Linked DNA regions of Homo sapiens: all the other regions are linked to region 1. The links are contacts of gene promoters, found by promoter capture Hi-C in blood cells and fetal thymus (Javierre and others, 2016). All regions are on one chromosome and are shown on one strand. The core of a region is centred on a gene start or on the middle of the fragment in contact, and the rest is flanking DNA. Distances in the headings are between cores, read along the strand shown.

Evidence for each region. Contacts are between HindIII fragments. The CHiCAGO score rates a contact against its expected background, and 5 or more counts as called.
Region 2: a contact is called between a fragment that was not itself captured here and the fragment with the promoter of HMSD in region 1, in 1 of 17 cell types (naive CD4 T cells). The highest score is 5.3, in naive CD4 T cells.
Region 3: a fragment that was not itself captured here is called in contact with the fragment with the promoter of HMSD in region 1 in 2 of 17 cell types (non-activated CD4 T cells and naive CD8 T cells); the score reaches 6.1 in non-activated CD4 T cells.
Region 4: a contact is called between a fragment that was not itself captured here and the fragment with the promoter of HMSD in region 1, in 1 of 17 cell types (monocytes). The highest score is 5.9, in monocytes.

What each region holds. Positions count from the first base shown.
Region 1 is chr18:63,947,024-63,950,941 of GRCh38, forward strand. It overlaps HMSD (histocompatibility minor serpin domain containing), which reads left to right and starts at 2,278. Exons shown (of 4, transcript NM_001123366.2): 1 at 2,278-2,377. RefSeq lists a silencer at 2,116-2,345. The HindIII fragment of the contact is 6,685 bases long and covers 1-3,918 here.
Region 2 is chr18:63,492,046-63,495,963 of GRCh38, forward strand. It overlaps SERPINB5 (serpin family B member 5), which reads left to right. Exons shown (of 7, transcript NM_002639.5): 5 at 908-1,050. Among named protein-coding and RNA genes, the nearest start is that of SERPINB5, 17 kb to the left of the region's middle. The HindIII fragment of the contact is 6,711 bases long and covers 1-3,918 here.
Region 3 is chr18:63,543,626-63,547,543 of GRCh38, forward strand. All of the region lies in intron 1 of SERPINB12 (serpin family B member 12), which reads left to right. Among named protein-coding and RNA genes, the nearest start is that of SERPINB12, 3.2 kb to the left of the region's middle. The HindIII fragment of the contact is 2,551 bases long and covers 730-3,280 here.
Region 4 is chr18:63,589,671-63,593,588 of GRCh38, forward strand. It overlaps SERPINB13 (serpin family B member 13), which reads left to right. Exons shown (of 8, transcript NM_012397.4): 3 at 1-45; 4 at 2,678-2,806; 5 at 3,184-3,301. Among named protein-coding and RNA genes, the nearest start is that of SERPINB13, 4.3 kb to the left of the region's middle. RefSeq lists an enhancer at 1-158. The HindIII fragment of the contact is 1,289 bases long and covers 1,080-2,368 here.

The DNA of each region.
Region 1 (3,918 bases), core at 1,028-3,527:
AAGTAAAATCATATACAAAAGTAAAGAAAGTGTGTTTTTAAAAATATATAAGATATTGAGTATAATTATGAGATAAGACTTCAAAAAAGTGAAGAGGTTAAAGATGAAGGAGTGAAGGTAAATATTTGCTTAACTAATGTAGTGAGTTAAGTAATGGATTCAATCACAGATGATTTAATCCACTAGTTTACATATTTTACTCACCCAAGGTTAGAGTTTACTATTTAGACACTTAACATTTCTTGGCTTACTGGACAATGTGAGTCACCTCTCCAGAAAAATTCATGGCATTGAATGGATACGTTAAAAAAGTAGAAACTTTGTTTTAAAAACTCTAAAATCAATCACCACAGCTTCTACTTTAGAATATCAGAAAAAGAAGAGTAAATTAAACCCAACTAAGCAAAACAAAATAAATAATAAAAATGGGGGCAGAAATGAATGAAATCCAGAGAGAAAATCAATGAAAACAAAAGCTAGTTCTTTTAAAAGACCAATGAATTGATGAGACTGTACCCAGGCTAAGCAAAAAGAAAAGCCTAAATTACTAATATCAGAAATGAAAGTGGTGAAATGCTAAAAATCCCATGTACAGTAAAAAATCATAAAGGAATACTCAGGACAGCTCTGTGCCCACAAATTTGATAAACTACATGACGTGGATCAATTTCTTGAAAGACACAATCCGCCAAAAGTCACACAACAGGAAATAGAACATTTGAATAGGCCTATATCTACTAAAAAAATTAATCAATAATTAATAGCCATCTAAAATAATTACCAGACCCAGATGGGCTCACTGGTAAATTCTAAAAACAAATTAAGAAAACGTTTACTCCAATTCTCTAAATCTCTTTCAGAAGATAGAAGCAGAAGAACTACTTTCTAATTCATTCTATAGGGCTGGAATTACTCTGATAACAAAACCAGACAAAGACATTAGAAGAAAAGAAACTTAAAGACCAATATCTTTCATTAGTATAGATGCAAAATCCTGAACAACATATTCACAAATGAAATCAAACTATGTGTAAAATAGTTGGATTATACATTGTGACTAAGTAAGATTGATTGCAGGTGTACAAGACTAATTCAACATTTGAAAATCAAAGGAATCCGTCATATCAACAGGTAAAAAACAGAAAAAATCCTCAAAAAATTGCTAGCAACTCCAATTCAACAACACATTAAACAGATCACTCACCACGATCAAGTGAGATTCACCCGGGTATGCAAGTATGATTCAATATACACAAATCAATAAATGCGATACATTGCATTAAAAGAACCAACAACAAAAACTGCACGATCATTTCAATAGATGCCGAAAATGTATTCAGTAAAATCCTACATCTCTTTATGATAAAAATCCTTAACACATTGGGTATAGAAGGAATATACCTCAAAACAATAAAAACCAAAATGAAAAACCCACTGCTAATATCATACTGAACAGGGAAAAATTGAAAACCTTTCCTATAAGATCTGCAACAAGACAAGGATGCCCAGTTTCACCCCCTTTATTCAGTATCTGACTGGAAGTCCTGGCCGGGGCAATTAGGCAAGAAAAAGAAACAAAGGACACCCAAACTGGAAAGAAAGATGTAAAATTAGCTTTGCTCACCAATGGTATAATCTTATAATCGGAAAAACCAAAAGACTCCCCTCAAAAACTACTAGAACTAATAAATGAATCAGTAAAGTTGCAGAATACAAAATGGATATAAAATATCCGTAAGATGTCTATACATCTACAGTGAACAGTCTGAAAAAGAAATCAAGAAAGAAATCCCACTTACAATAGCTATAAGAAATATGATGTATAAAATACCTAGTAATCAATTTAATTAAAAAAGTGAAAGACTTCTACAAGGACAACTATAAAACACTGATGAGAAAAACGTGAAGAACACACACAGAAAATGGACACATATTCATGCTCATAGGTTGGAATAATTAATGTTAAAAGTACAATGCTACCCAAACAATTTACAGATTGAATGCAATCCCTGTCAAAATACCAATGTCATTCTTCACAGAAATAGAAAAAAAAAAAAACCCTATAATTTGTATGGAACCACGAAAAACCCCAAATAGCCAAAGCGCATTATCGCTTCTTGACTGAAAACTCCCGGACAGTTGGGGCTTTTTCCTGCACAGAGATTGGCCACTTCCTGCACATCAGGAGATCCCCGCGGCCTGCGGGACCCGCCCCGCCCTCCTGCCCAGGCGCCCGCTAGGTGGTGCCTGGCTGGGCCCGACTCCGCCCGCCTCCCCATTCACTGGGAACTAACACCCGGCGCCGCTCAGACATCTCTATTCCCGCCTCTCCGACCCGGTCTCACTTCGCTCCTGGGCAGCTGCGCGGAGAACTGGGGTAGGTGTTTGACTTTGGGAGTGGTTCCCACACGCTGGATTCTCGTTACCTGCTCTTGAGCCCAGGAAAAGGGCGGGAACCTACGAAAGGGAAGCCCAGTGAAGTGCTCAGCGCACCTGTTGCTCCAGACCTTTCCCTGGGGCTGTCCTTCTTTACTCGGTCTCTGGCGGGGGCTCCCTAAGGGCAGGGACTTGGCTGCACTTGGCTGTGTGCCCTATGGGTCCAGGCGCGGGGAGGGGAGGCCAGGGCGAATGGGCGCGGAGCTGGGGGGTGAAAGTCCTGCCTGGGCTCCACTCATCCTGCAGGAGCTGGAAGTAGGTACAATGAGGCCTCCCACCCTGGTGAAGTTTATGTTGGGCGCTGGAAGGGGCTGTGAGGCCTGGGACCTCCAGGAAAAACAACAGCAGCAGTATTTATTTGTCGGTACCGAAACTCGTATGCTCTCAGTATTCAGAATTTGTACTTGACATTCCTCCTCCTTTAAAAGAAACCAGGAGAGGCGTTGATAGTATGTTTTTGGACTGGAAAAAAATCAAAATGAGGACGATACTGTTGCCAGAAAGCAAAAGTGTTGGGATAGTGTAAAAAGAAAGTAACCAATTTACAGAGATTCCCAGTAGACAAGTTGTGAGAATTTGCTCAAGAACAAAAACCAGTATGTGTTAATTGAAATACATGTTACAACAAAGCCAAGAAAGAGTCCTTTAGTAAATTCAGATAAAACAAGTAAAATGGGCCAGGCGCGGTGGCTCACGCTTGTAATCCCAGCACTTTGGGAGGCTGAGGGGGGCGGATCACGAGGTCAGGAGTTCGAGACCCAGCCTGGCCAATATGGTGAAACCCAGTCTCTACTAAAAATACAAAAATTAGCCGGGTGTCGTGACATGGGCCTGTAGTCCCAGCTACTCAGGAGGCTGAGGCAGAAGAATCGCTTGAACCTGGGAGGCAGAGGTTGCAGTGAGCCAAGATTGCACCACTGCACTCCAGCCTGAGGGACAAAGCGAGACTCTCTCTCAAAAAAAAAAAAAAAAAAAAAAAAAAATGTAAGATGAGTTTAAAGGAGGCAGGAAATAATTTCAATAATGTTTACAAGAAATGCTGTGTGATGATTCATATACGACTGCTGTGTAGGAATAGTGACTATAGGCACCTAGGTTGACAGGCACAGTGGTTACAAAAACCAACCTGAAGGCCTAAATATTAAACCAGGAGACTTTGAAAGCCAACTTGTGGATAGAACTCTGTGTTACGCAAATCAGATGCACGAGAACCTCAAATAGTATTTCATTTCAAGGAAAGGCATTTGGCAAAAAAAAGAAAAAAGCAAATTTAATAGTTGTCTTTGCAAAATCCCAATGTAGGACCAAACTGCAAAATGGTCCTTACATTTGTTTGGCTTTAAAAAGCAGTATGACCTGAAAAGTAGCAGTGTCAGGTCAGTCAGAGCCCATGTCCCAACCATCAATCTGGCAGCCCCATCCTATTGTTTTTGTGAATAGGAGATGGTCTGTTATTAATTTAACCCCAGAAAAGTATTAAAA
Region 2 (3,918 bases), core at 821-3,320, 460 kb before region 1:
GTCACAGGCCTGTGAAGTGGGCCCTGAACATTGGTCTGAAAATTGGAGATTAGGTGAATGAAAACCCTTTATAAAAAACCTGTGGGCTATTCAAATGTGAGGAGTTCTTTTTATTAAGGGATCACTCCCCTTGAATTGTTTTGGCTATTGGGATTTAGCTTTATAATAACTGCAATTGTGATTGAGCCCTATGGTGATTACAGTTGACCTTGAGGCAATCAGCCTGCCCGCAAGGAGTGCAATTGAGAGAGTGGATGGAGAGCTGTGGGGTGAAGGGGACAACCTTCAGACATGTTTTCCAGCTGAGGAAACTAGAACAGCTCCTTGGCCTCTCTGAGCCTCAGTTTACTGCACTGTAAAATGGAGATAATGATCTTTGCCTTATAGGACCATTGTGAAAAGACTGAGATAATATATGTGAAATTCTGCCATAAAGAAAGTGATTACGTATTTTCATTCAAGAGCACAGGCTTTGGAGTCAGAAAGAGCTGGCTTTGAATCCTGAATCCACCCTTGTTTATATATCATCCTTGAAAGTGACTTATCATCGCTGAGTCTCAGCTTCCTCATTCATAAAGTAGGAAGAAATATATATAATGTGTATCAAATAGCTTGTATACTGCCTGACACAGAATAGGCATTCAGAATGGTAGCTGTGCTTTCCTTCTTATTTCTCTTCCTTTCTTCCCTGCTCCTTCATTCTCCTCTGCTGACCTCTTTGGTAGATCTGGTTGTGTCAAGGTAGAAGGAGAGAAAGGAGTCCTTCTGAAATTTGATGGTTGGAACCATCAGGCCTTACATGGTGTGACTCCATGAAGTGGTAAATACTCAGTGAATATGCATGTGAATTTCAGATGTAGTTTGGAAGAATAATTCTGCTACTTGTGTTTTCCTAAAATTGTTGCAGGCCACTTTGAGAACATTTTAGCTGACAACAGTGTGAACGACCAGACCAAAATCCTTGTGGTTAATGCTGCCTACTTTGTTGGCAAGTGGATGAAGAAATTTTCTGAATCAGAAACAAAAGAATGTCCTTTCAGAGTCAACAAGGTATGTGGGGCAGCATGTAGCAGTAAAAGGAGCCCAATTATAGATGTGAAAAATGATAGGGACAGAGTGGGGCATAAATCCATTCCAATGAGGAACCTGAGGGCACGGCCGGCAAAGTGCCTTTCCTGAGATGAACAGCTGGAAGGTAAGTGGTACAAAAAGAGCCAGAATCCAGAGGCCCCCCCTCCTCTTTTCCATAATGTCTTCAAGGATCTGAGCTGAGTGAAACTTTATAGAATTTGTAACCCAGCGAGGAAAGCTAAGTCACCAGCTGAAAAATAGCTACAAACATCTGAGAACTTTAGCAGAAAAGGAAAAGACCAAACTCTGTTATCAGAGGACTTTGGATTATCATGAAACCTTGACATCTAGGAATCTTGTTCCTGATTGATTAACTTCTCTAACATCTCATTTCCTTATCGGTTGATAGCGAAGTATATTGTTCTGGGATTTTAATTTATAATTTATAAGATGCTTTGATGGCTGGGCGTGGTGGCTCATGCCTGTAATCCCATGACTTTGGGAAGCCGAGGAGGGCAGATCACCTGAGGTCAGGAGTTGGAGACCAGCCTGGCCAACATGGTGAAACCCTGTCTCTACTAAAAATACAAAAATTAGCTGGGCATGGTTGTGGGTGCCTGTAATCTCAGCTACATGGGAGGCTGAGGCAGGAGAATCAGACCCTGGGAGACAGAGGTTGCAGTCAGCCGAGACTGCACCACTGCACTCCAGCTTGGGCAACAAGAGTGAAACTCCACCTCAAGAAAAACAAACAAACAAACAAACAACAAGACCAGATGCTTTCAGGCACTTGTTGGCTGTGAAAAAACAAAGTATGGCTTACTCATTGACATCACTGGAAGTCATTATGGGAAGAATTAAGGGCCTGTTTTGCAGGCCAGTCTCATTGATACTGTTGAAGTAAATATGTTAAATAATTAATAGAGGGTGGGCACAGTGGCTCATGCCTGTAATCCCAGCACCTTGGGAAGTCGAGGCAGGCAGATCACGAGGTCAGGAGTTTGAGACCAGCCTGACCAACATAGTAAAACCCCATCTCTACTAAAAATACAAAAATTAGCTGGGCATGGTGGCATGTGCCTGTAATCCCAGCTGCTCAGGAGGCTGAGACAGGAGAATGGCTTGAACCCAGGAGGCAGAGGTTGCAGTGAGCTGAGATTGTGCCACTGCACTCCAGCCTGGGTGACAAAGTGAGACTCCATCTCAAAAAAAAAAAAAAAAAAAAAAAAGAAATGGGTAAAGTACCTCTTTTGTAAATGAGATCAAGGAACTGAGACTGGAAATTTGACCCATTTTATTGGAAAACCCAGACATCTATATGATGATGTGATGTGGTCTCCGTGGGTGGGATCTGACTTGTGTTAGACTGGAAGCAGCACTTCAGTTAGTACAATACTTGAAGGTAGCTTAGTTACCTGTAGCTCCTACGCGTCAGTTCTAGTTTTCATGCTTCTCCCAGTAGTTAGAGTACTTAGCATCAATATCTTGTTTTTGCCAAATATAGTAGCACCTTCTTAATGCTAGCATCCATGAGGAAAAGCCCTGCAAGATACAATCTATGCCTGGGTTAGCCGGATGGCTTCCATTACTCTTTCTTTCTTTGTTCCCATGGAATTTTTATTCATACTCTCCCCTGTCCACTGCCAGAATTTGCTTTTCCACAGTGAAATCTGTTTACTTACATAGATCCCCTACTAGCGCATGGGATTTTTAAGGTAGGGACAATGCCTTATTCACCTCAGTGTCTACAATTTCTGGCCAAGTCCCTAACACATCAGTAGGTGCTCAGCAAATTTGCTGAATGAATGATCAGTCCCTAAGGGTCAGTTTGCTTAAACAATCAATAGCAGACAAAACCTGACTGGCCTTTGGGACTACCATGGTTTCCTATGCAAGACCCATTGGGCATTTTCACTGGGAGAAGACAATGATGACTGTTACTGCTCCTTACCAACTCAAAATATCCATGGGAGCTGAGGGATGGGTAGGAGGTCCTCCTAACTTCCTGAGTTTAGCTTCCCAACTGCAGTGGTCTTCTCAAAGCTGACTGCAGAGACAGGATTGACCCTGCACACAAGAGGTCTGTCTGAGATTCTAGAGACATAGCTTATGCTCTTCACACTCTTGTGTTTTGCACACACAGGTCCTTGAGTTTTAAGCATGGCTTTTTGACCTTCTCAGTATTGTCTTTTATCTGGAGTGGAAGTGGAACGTGACTTTACCCAGCCTCTACTGTGAGTTAGGGAGGGGTGTTGGCCCCACTGGCCCTGACGGCATCCACACAGCCTTTGCTGTCATAGAGTGACCCTTCTGGCTCCTTTGATTAGTGATTGGCTCTCCTCCATAGCAAGGGCTGGCAAAGGGTTCCTAACTCTGTTTAAGTGAAATCTGAAACAGGTTGCCAATGGTGCCTCTCTTCAAGACCCCAGAGCCAGCCTGGAAGGAACACCATGAAAATGTTGCAATAGTCAATGAGTAGAATGTGGACTTTTGTGTCAACCACACTAAGGGTCGTACTTTTTTCATTAAGAAAGTATTAACGTGTGTTTTTTGAGAAGGGAGGAAGAATGTGTGCTATTCCTTTATTCTTGCTATTAAATCATAAAGCTGGGTTATATAAGATCCTGGAAACTCAGCCTTTATGAACAGAATTAATAAAAGTTTGAAATGTCATTGATCTCTCAGTGTTTCACTTGATAAAGCAATAAAATGCTATTCACAGCTGCATGAGGCTACACCCTTCTTTTGAATGCAGATGCTATTACTTCTCCTTTGTTTTCTTTGAATTGCTTTGTCCACCCTAGAACTTTTTGAGTGACATTACTAAACCTTTTCTTATGCCCCGTG
Region 3 (3,918 bases), core at 755-3,254, 400 kb before region 1:
ACTCTGTTGCCCAGGCTGGAGTGCAGTGGCGTGATCTTGGCTTACAGCAACACCTCTGTCTCCCCAGTTCAAGTGATTCTCCTGCCTCAGCCTCCTGAGGCAGGGATTATAGCCTCCTGTAGCTGGGCTTACAGGCGTGCGCCACGACACCAGGCTAATTTTTGTATTTTTAGTAGAGATGAGGTTTTGCCATGTTGGCCAGGCTGGTCTTGAACTCCTGACCTCAAGTGATCTGCTGGTGTCAGCCTCCTAATGTGCTGGGTTTACAGGTGTGAGCCACTGCGCCCGGGCAAAATGTACATTTTAGATTTAAGAAAATATGTTTCTTGTTAGCATATTACAATATTTATTGTATGTAAATAGAGGTTATATATCTAGGATATAAAAACTTCAAAGGTTTTAAAAACCATGGTATTTCATCATTTAAAGCAGGGATCAGCAAACTTTTCAGTAAGGGGACAGATAGTAAATATTTGCAGCTTTGCAGGCCATGTGATTTCTTCTCCACTACCACTGTTCAACTCTGTCATTGTAGAGCAAAAGCAGCCATAGACAGTAATAAATGAATGGATGTGTTTCGTTCCAATAAAACTTTATTTACAAAAACAGGCAGAGGGCTGGATTTGGCCTGCAGGCTGTAGTTTGTAAGCCATGATTTGAAGGATGAAGTCCTCATTTACAGTTTTGGAAGAAATAGATAATGTTATAAAGATTTGGCTAAGAAAATAAAGCTTTGTGCAATACTAATTCTATGTAATTATATTAAAAACGTGAATAGTTGTAAACACATAAGAGCTTGGAAAACCATATTATTATTCTTATTTTTTTAAGGGCGAGAAAATTGAAGTTTTCATGATGTAGTTGCCTGAGGTCTCAGGCTAGTAAGATTCAGCCCAGGGCCTGCTTCTTCTGATTGCAAGTTTACTGCTTTTTCTATGTGTTCTTTGCTGTCTCATAGCTTTGCCTGTCTTTGATCTCTATGTCTCTGTCATATTGGGGTGGACAGCTGACATTTTTTCAATCCTGGAGATGTCAGTTTTGAAGCTGAAAGAACTAAGGGCTTTGGATATCTTAAGAGTGATTGCAAGTTTTGAAATGAGTTTGTGTTTTAGTCTTTATTGTTGTTTTAATAGATTTTTTCCTCTTTTTATGTGTTATAAGACTCTTAAATTTGGAGGATACAAGATAAACATCAGGAAAACTGTCTGCTTTAGATAAAAGATGCATTTTTTCATTAGGTTGAAAGTGTCTATGCTGATATTTTTCCTATAAACATGTTTTCTTTTCTCAATATTGGGTTTTAAAATTAAATGACAAAGAGCCCCTTTGTAATATTTCAAAAATACTGCCTTTATCAGTAGGGGAATATTAATCATATCATTTTGCATCATAAACTGGCAAAGACTTTGATTGCTGAATCATTCTGGCCTCCTTAAATTTTTAATTCTAGGCAGAAAAAGGCTAATTGCTGAAAGATTTATTGATTGGCTCATAATTCTTGCTGAGTTGTAACATACCTAGGAGGAATCATCTAGCTCTATACTTGATGAAGTAAACATTATTTTTACGGCCTGTTGACATAGAACTATTTTTTTTTTTTTTTAGCTTGCCTTGAATAGCACTGTCAGGCTAGTTGACCTCCAAATTTCTTTCAAACCCTAGTGTAATTCTCTGGCACTTGAAGTCACGGGTACTAGAGAGGCTCGCTTTCTTCAGCCATTCAGTGATATATTACATGTGTAAAGTACCAAATGCAGCTTGACATTTAGTAAGTGCTCAAGAAATTCTCATCCCCTTGTTAGTGATTTATCAAGCTACCTTAATGTTTAGCTACATTTAGTGTCAGATTTCATCTTCGCTCATTGAGCAATCGCACCACACCAAATTTTTAGGCTTGTAGGGCACAGTCATCTGTAGTTAGATCTTTGTTGAATTATTTAAGAGGATAAACAGATGCAAATCTAGATTAAAGACATTCAAACAAGTTTATACTCTTCTCAGGTACCCAGAAGCCCAGTGAAATTTGAATATTATCCCCCAACAGTAACAGATGTGACACCTACTTCCAGGAAGCCAGGCAAGAACTCATCCTGTTCTGAATATGAATGGTATACCCTTTTGGAAAGGCTATGATGGGCAACATGAAGTAGTAATCAATGACATAAAATATTAAATAATTCACGTGTTAAAATTTTCCAAACTCTTGCAAATCATAACCAATGACTAGACTGGTTTTTAGAATTTTGTGGAAGAATTTAGAAAAAAAAATAATTATTTTCAAATGATCAAGGAGTAAAGAAAACTAACAGCACGTTTCTTTTCTATGCTTACTATTGATAATTCAGAAAAACTCTGGATGCTTAGTCATTAATTTCCACTGGTCAATATCTTATAAAACTTGTTTTATTTATACACTAGCTACATAAGTAGTTTATATTTTCCATAAAGGCCATCTCTCCATTTTAGAAAGTTTTCCTTTGAATTTCTCTACACCTAATGTATTTGTAGGGTCATGGTTCAGATAATATTGTTGTCTGACAACAAGTTAGAAAAGGAAGATAAAGGGCTCAGTAGGAGAACCAGGTCAGAGAGGGGTCCTCGTTTGTCCTTAAGACATGTCAGTTCCTGGAGTTTGACTCTTCCTAGCTTTCTCCTAGTTGCTCCACACTTTTTGCCCTATCCACTGACCCTCATGTTTACAGTCAGTAACATAACACGATTGTAGAGTGCTAGAACCAAAAGTAACATCAGAACATGCTTTGGCTAAGTTTAAAAAGTTTTGTGTTTTCAGTTGTAAAATATGTGTGTCAATAATCAAATAATAATTCTCATCCCTACCACACACCTACTGCAGGAAAGCAAAAACTTTGAAGTAGCTTAGAGCACATTTTGCAAATCCTATGTAATAACTTAGAAAGATTTTAGAATAATGCAAAAATTCAAATATAAGAAATCATCTAAGACAATGTGTATATGAAGTAAAATACATTTCTGCTTCATGGTCTTCTAGTATAGAAATTTGAATTGAAAAGTGTGAGCCAAGTATTGCTTTGAGGGCTCTATAAAATTGGAAAGAGCAAAGAAAATATAAGCATATTAAGTTAAATATTCAATGTAGTTAAAAGCATAGCATTTGTTTTAAAAATATATGCCACTCTTTTCTTTTCCCTTTAATCTATCAATGATGATTTTACTCTGGATTCCAAAATGGCACTGGAAAAGTTCCACAGAGGGAGGGGCAAAGTTGATATATTTCCATTCCCGACAGGGTGTGGAGGGAAGCTTACCTGACCAGCTGTTAGCAGCAACTCTGAGGGCAAGAAGGTAAATGCTCGAATTGCCTGATATAATTTTTAACAATGAACACTGAATTGGAAAACCATTTTAAAGGATAGAAACCCAGAGGAGATGTGATTGAAATAGAAGGATATACTTGTTTTTATTAAGTCAAATACTTAAAAAAAGTGAGTTAGTTTTATGATGTTTTGGATTTTCTGCAGATGTGGCAGTCATCACTGGGAGATATTAACAATGCTTGTCACCTCGCTCAGCCCCAACCACCTGGTCAGATGCCTGATGTATATGATTGATTTTTTTAAAATGTAGATGTTTGAATAACTTTTTAAACTTTCACATACTTGACATATTGTATTTTATCTTTTAATGAATTATTTCTGAAACATAAGATGGTATAATATTTAGAATATCTATATTTTAAACAATGTGAGTTAGATTTTTTTTTTTTGCACCATAAGTTGGAAAACACTTTCGATGGTATTGTTCACAAGTATTTCTTTGTTTTTAGATATTGGTTATTATTTAGTTTGCTGTAACCTGGTTTGAATATTTGTTCCAGCAGAATAGCATCTATTTGTGTAAAGTTTGAATTTCATTCTTGAGTTGTTAGTAGCTTTGTGG
Region 4 (3,918 bases), core at 474-2,973, 360 kb before region 1:
AAAGAGACGAAGAGCTCAAGAATAAAGGCTGAAGAAAAAGAGGTGGTAAGAATAAAGGCTGAAGGAAAAGAGGTGGGGAGATGTGTTTTACAAACTTCAGTAGAGTTGCATTTTAGGTGTGGGGTCTCTGGGGAAAAGGACTGAGAAAGGCATGAAAGCAATATTGTTGCTTTACTATTAAGCAATAATAATCACCATAGACAAATATTGTTGTAAGGATTATACAATAATAATAACCCCTTAATATTGAGAAGAGACCTTAGGTGTAATGGACAATACCGCTATGATAGAACTGGTAAAGGCTAATAGACAGAAAAGTTCCCATAGCAGAGTGGATGGGTTTTGGAGTTAAACAGACTTAGGTCCAAGTCCTGGCTCAGTCACTTAAGAGCGATGCTACTTTGGGCAAGTTATTTATCTTCTTTCAGCCTCTGTAAAGTCCGCAGTAGGGGCATCTGGCAACTGAGCCAGTGGTGGTGGTGGTAGTAGCAGTAGGTGATATTATTGCTAAACTCCACTCATATTTTTAACCCCGTGCTGATGTTGTATTTAAAAAATTATTACAGGCCCAATGACTTCCTGAGGTCTTTTCCAGCTCCAGTGTTCCTGTATTCGCCATCCAAAGGAGAGTCTACTCAAATATGGGAAAGGAATAAGCCCATTAGGTCGGGGCTAGGATCAGACGTTAGCACTCTCAGGAAGGGCACAGCTGCTCTGACAGTAGTCATAGTGCAATTCCAGACCCTCATAAAACCATGGCTCAGATCACCCAGCAATAGGAGCTGCTCATTTCACAACCCCAAAAGGCTAGGTCGTGTGGGTGGCTCAGTTGCTCCTGTGGAGGGTCAGGCTTCCTTTCAGGGTTTGCGCAACCAAGTTGGGTCATATGGCCACTGCAATGTTCCCTCAACTGAGAAGTGCAGTTGTCTTCAGAGCACATTCTTTCTCAGCCATGATAGCCCATGTAGAACCTTTGTGCAAATTAGAAAACAGCTCATTCTTTTGGATAGCTGCCCTACTCCTATGTGAAGGGCTAGATGACTGGGGTGGAAACTGAATTTCAGCTTTGTGTAAGGCAAAGCTTACACATACATGCTGTCTAGCAGTTTTGCCCATTCCCCAGAATTTTCCTGGGAGCCACAGGGGTATGAAGAGAATAGAATTACTGACTGAAAGGATATTAGCACTGGAATACATCTTAGAGGTCATCTACTCCAATCTCCTCATTTAATAGTTTGCCCAGAGACTGGCTTGGCATGTACCCGTTTGATTATTATGTAAATTCAGAGTATTTTGAATCTTGCTTTTAAAAAATGCTGATAAAATCTCAAGACATATGTACAAAAGGTATAAGGAAAAATGCAATAAACACACTTTAACCCCTCCTTTAAGTGTACAAAATAAACTATTACCAAATCAGCTGATGCCCCTTAGGCTGATGTATAACACCTTCCTTGAGCACGCCCCCATCCTCTCCTCAGAGAGGAAGTCCCACTATTGTGGATTAGGTGTTCATTATTCCCACGTATTTATTATTTCATTACATGCCATATATTTTTGTCATTCTTCTTTGGAACTTGATTATTTTTGGCTTAGCATCATGTTTATAAGATTCATCTATTTTAAGGGGATACTTATAGCTCTATTTGATTCATTTTTATAGCTATTTCCTCATTTATTTTGTTGATGGGGCCGGCCTTCCTTCCTTCCTTCCTTCCCTCCTTCCTTCCTTTTTTCTTTCCTTCCTTCCTTCCTTCCTTCCCTCCTTCCTTCCTTTTTTCTTTCCTTCCTTCCTTCCTTCTACAAACAATGCAAAAATGGCCTTTTTAATGCCAGCCTCCTAATTTGCCTGGGTGAGAGTTTATCCAGTCCCAAGCTATCCAGTATAGTAGCTACTCAAGTGGCTATTGAACACTTGCAATACATCTAGTTTGAATCCAGATGTGCTATAGGTATAAAATGCATATTATATTTTAAGAACTTAGTATGAGAAAGGAATACAAAATATTAATTTTCATGTATTATTTTTGCTGAAATATGTATCTTATATATTAATATGTAATTAATATTTATTGTATTTATATGTTGAAATAATGACATTCTAGATATGTCGTTAAGGTAACATAGAATATGAAAACTTCAATCAGAAAACTGATGGGTCCTACATAAAATATTCAGAAAATTTTTTTTTTCCCCTGGAGACAAGGATAAATCTCACTTCAGCCCAATGTGTAGTGACTCATACCATTAGGAGTCACTCTTCTTATTCACTATCTGGAAAAATTTCCAAACTTCAATAGATAAGAATCGTCCGGAGAAATCACTTACTTTCCTTAGATGCTTAGAATCTTGTGGGGAGCTAAAAACAAGCTTATTGAACATTTAGTGAGCACTTTTATTTGAGACCAAAAAAGCCCACAACTTGAGTTATAAATGCAAGATCTGTGGTGTTGGGCTGGCAGAGAAGGCTTCTCTCTGGAGCTGAGATTGGTCATAACTGACATTATCATATGACTTGGGTAAAGGCTACCTGATATCCAGGGGCCACATCAAACACAGGGATCACCCTTGAGGCTGACAAACGGAGGGAGAGACCCAGCAGCCGCATCCTCTTAGGGGAGAATCTGGGCTTGCTTTTGCCAAGATAACCTGTTGAGATTTTGTTTTAATTTTCAAGATTGAGAACACAGAAGCAGTACATCAACAATTCCAAAAGTTTTTGACTGAAATAAGCAAACTCACTAATGATTATGAACTGAACATAACCAACAGGCTGTTTGGAGAAAAAACATACCTCTTCCTTCAAGTAAGTTTGCCATGCCTACCATATCTGTGAGTGGTATTCTGGAATGGCCAAATGGCCCTGGTAGGACTATGGGTCCTGAAGTCGTGCTGCCTGGCTCTGGCCACATCCCTGTGGTGCTTTTCCATCCTGATCTACAGATATTCAGAACTGCAGGGAGTTCCTTTTTAGTCCTGGCAATCTGAACCTGATTTTTGCCTCATCCCCAGAATAGCTGCATAAAAATGTGCAGCAGGAACTCAATGTGAGATGCCCAGGGCCTTAAAATTTCTCTTACTGTATTAGTCATCCTAATGTATACATAAATTTATTTAGAGATGTTGGCAATTGATAAATTGAGTTTTTAACCTCTTTTTATTCCTTCCTTGTTTCTCCTAAAGAAATACTTAGATTATGTTGAAAAATATTATCATGCATCTCTGGAACCTGTTGATTTTGTAAATGCAGCCGATGAAAGTCGAAAGAAGATTAATTCCTGGGTTGAAAGCAAAACAAATGGTAGAGTATGGGTGGGTCATTCATTGCAAAAAAACAAAAACAAAGAAACAAACAAACAAAAAACACTTCTTGACAACCTGCTGTGAATGAAGCCCTGGACTTGTCACTGCGTGGGGTGCCATGCAGTGCACAAGCTTTGGGAAGGGACTTGAGATAGGTTTTGCAGGGTTGGAAGGGCAAGCCCAGGCCTAGGAGGTAGGGAAGGCACTGCAGATGGTGGAGCAATTTCAGCAAATGTGGAGCGGCCAAGGGGAGCCAGTGAGGGGACTGCATGAAGCCAAATGCACGGAAACGCTTGCTGGAGAACTGTTTACACATAGCCATGGATCACAATATCTTGGGGGTCCTGAAAATAGGATGATGCCTGTCTTGGGTTTACATTCTTTCCTTTATATCAGAGCCTTTCTTCCTGAGTTTTTCTCTGTCTGTGTTAAATGAGAAACACGCAGCTCTCCCATCAAGACTTGTCGTTCCCATCCACAGCTGGGGCCACCTAGTCTTCATCTTCACTTAAGCATAGTGCAGGGGTAACGACAACCTACAGCTCTCCCCACAGCAGAGGATTTGACAAGTTTCTTATCCCATTATTCCTTTCTCATCCCCTGGTATGGGAAATC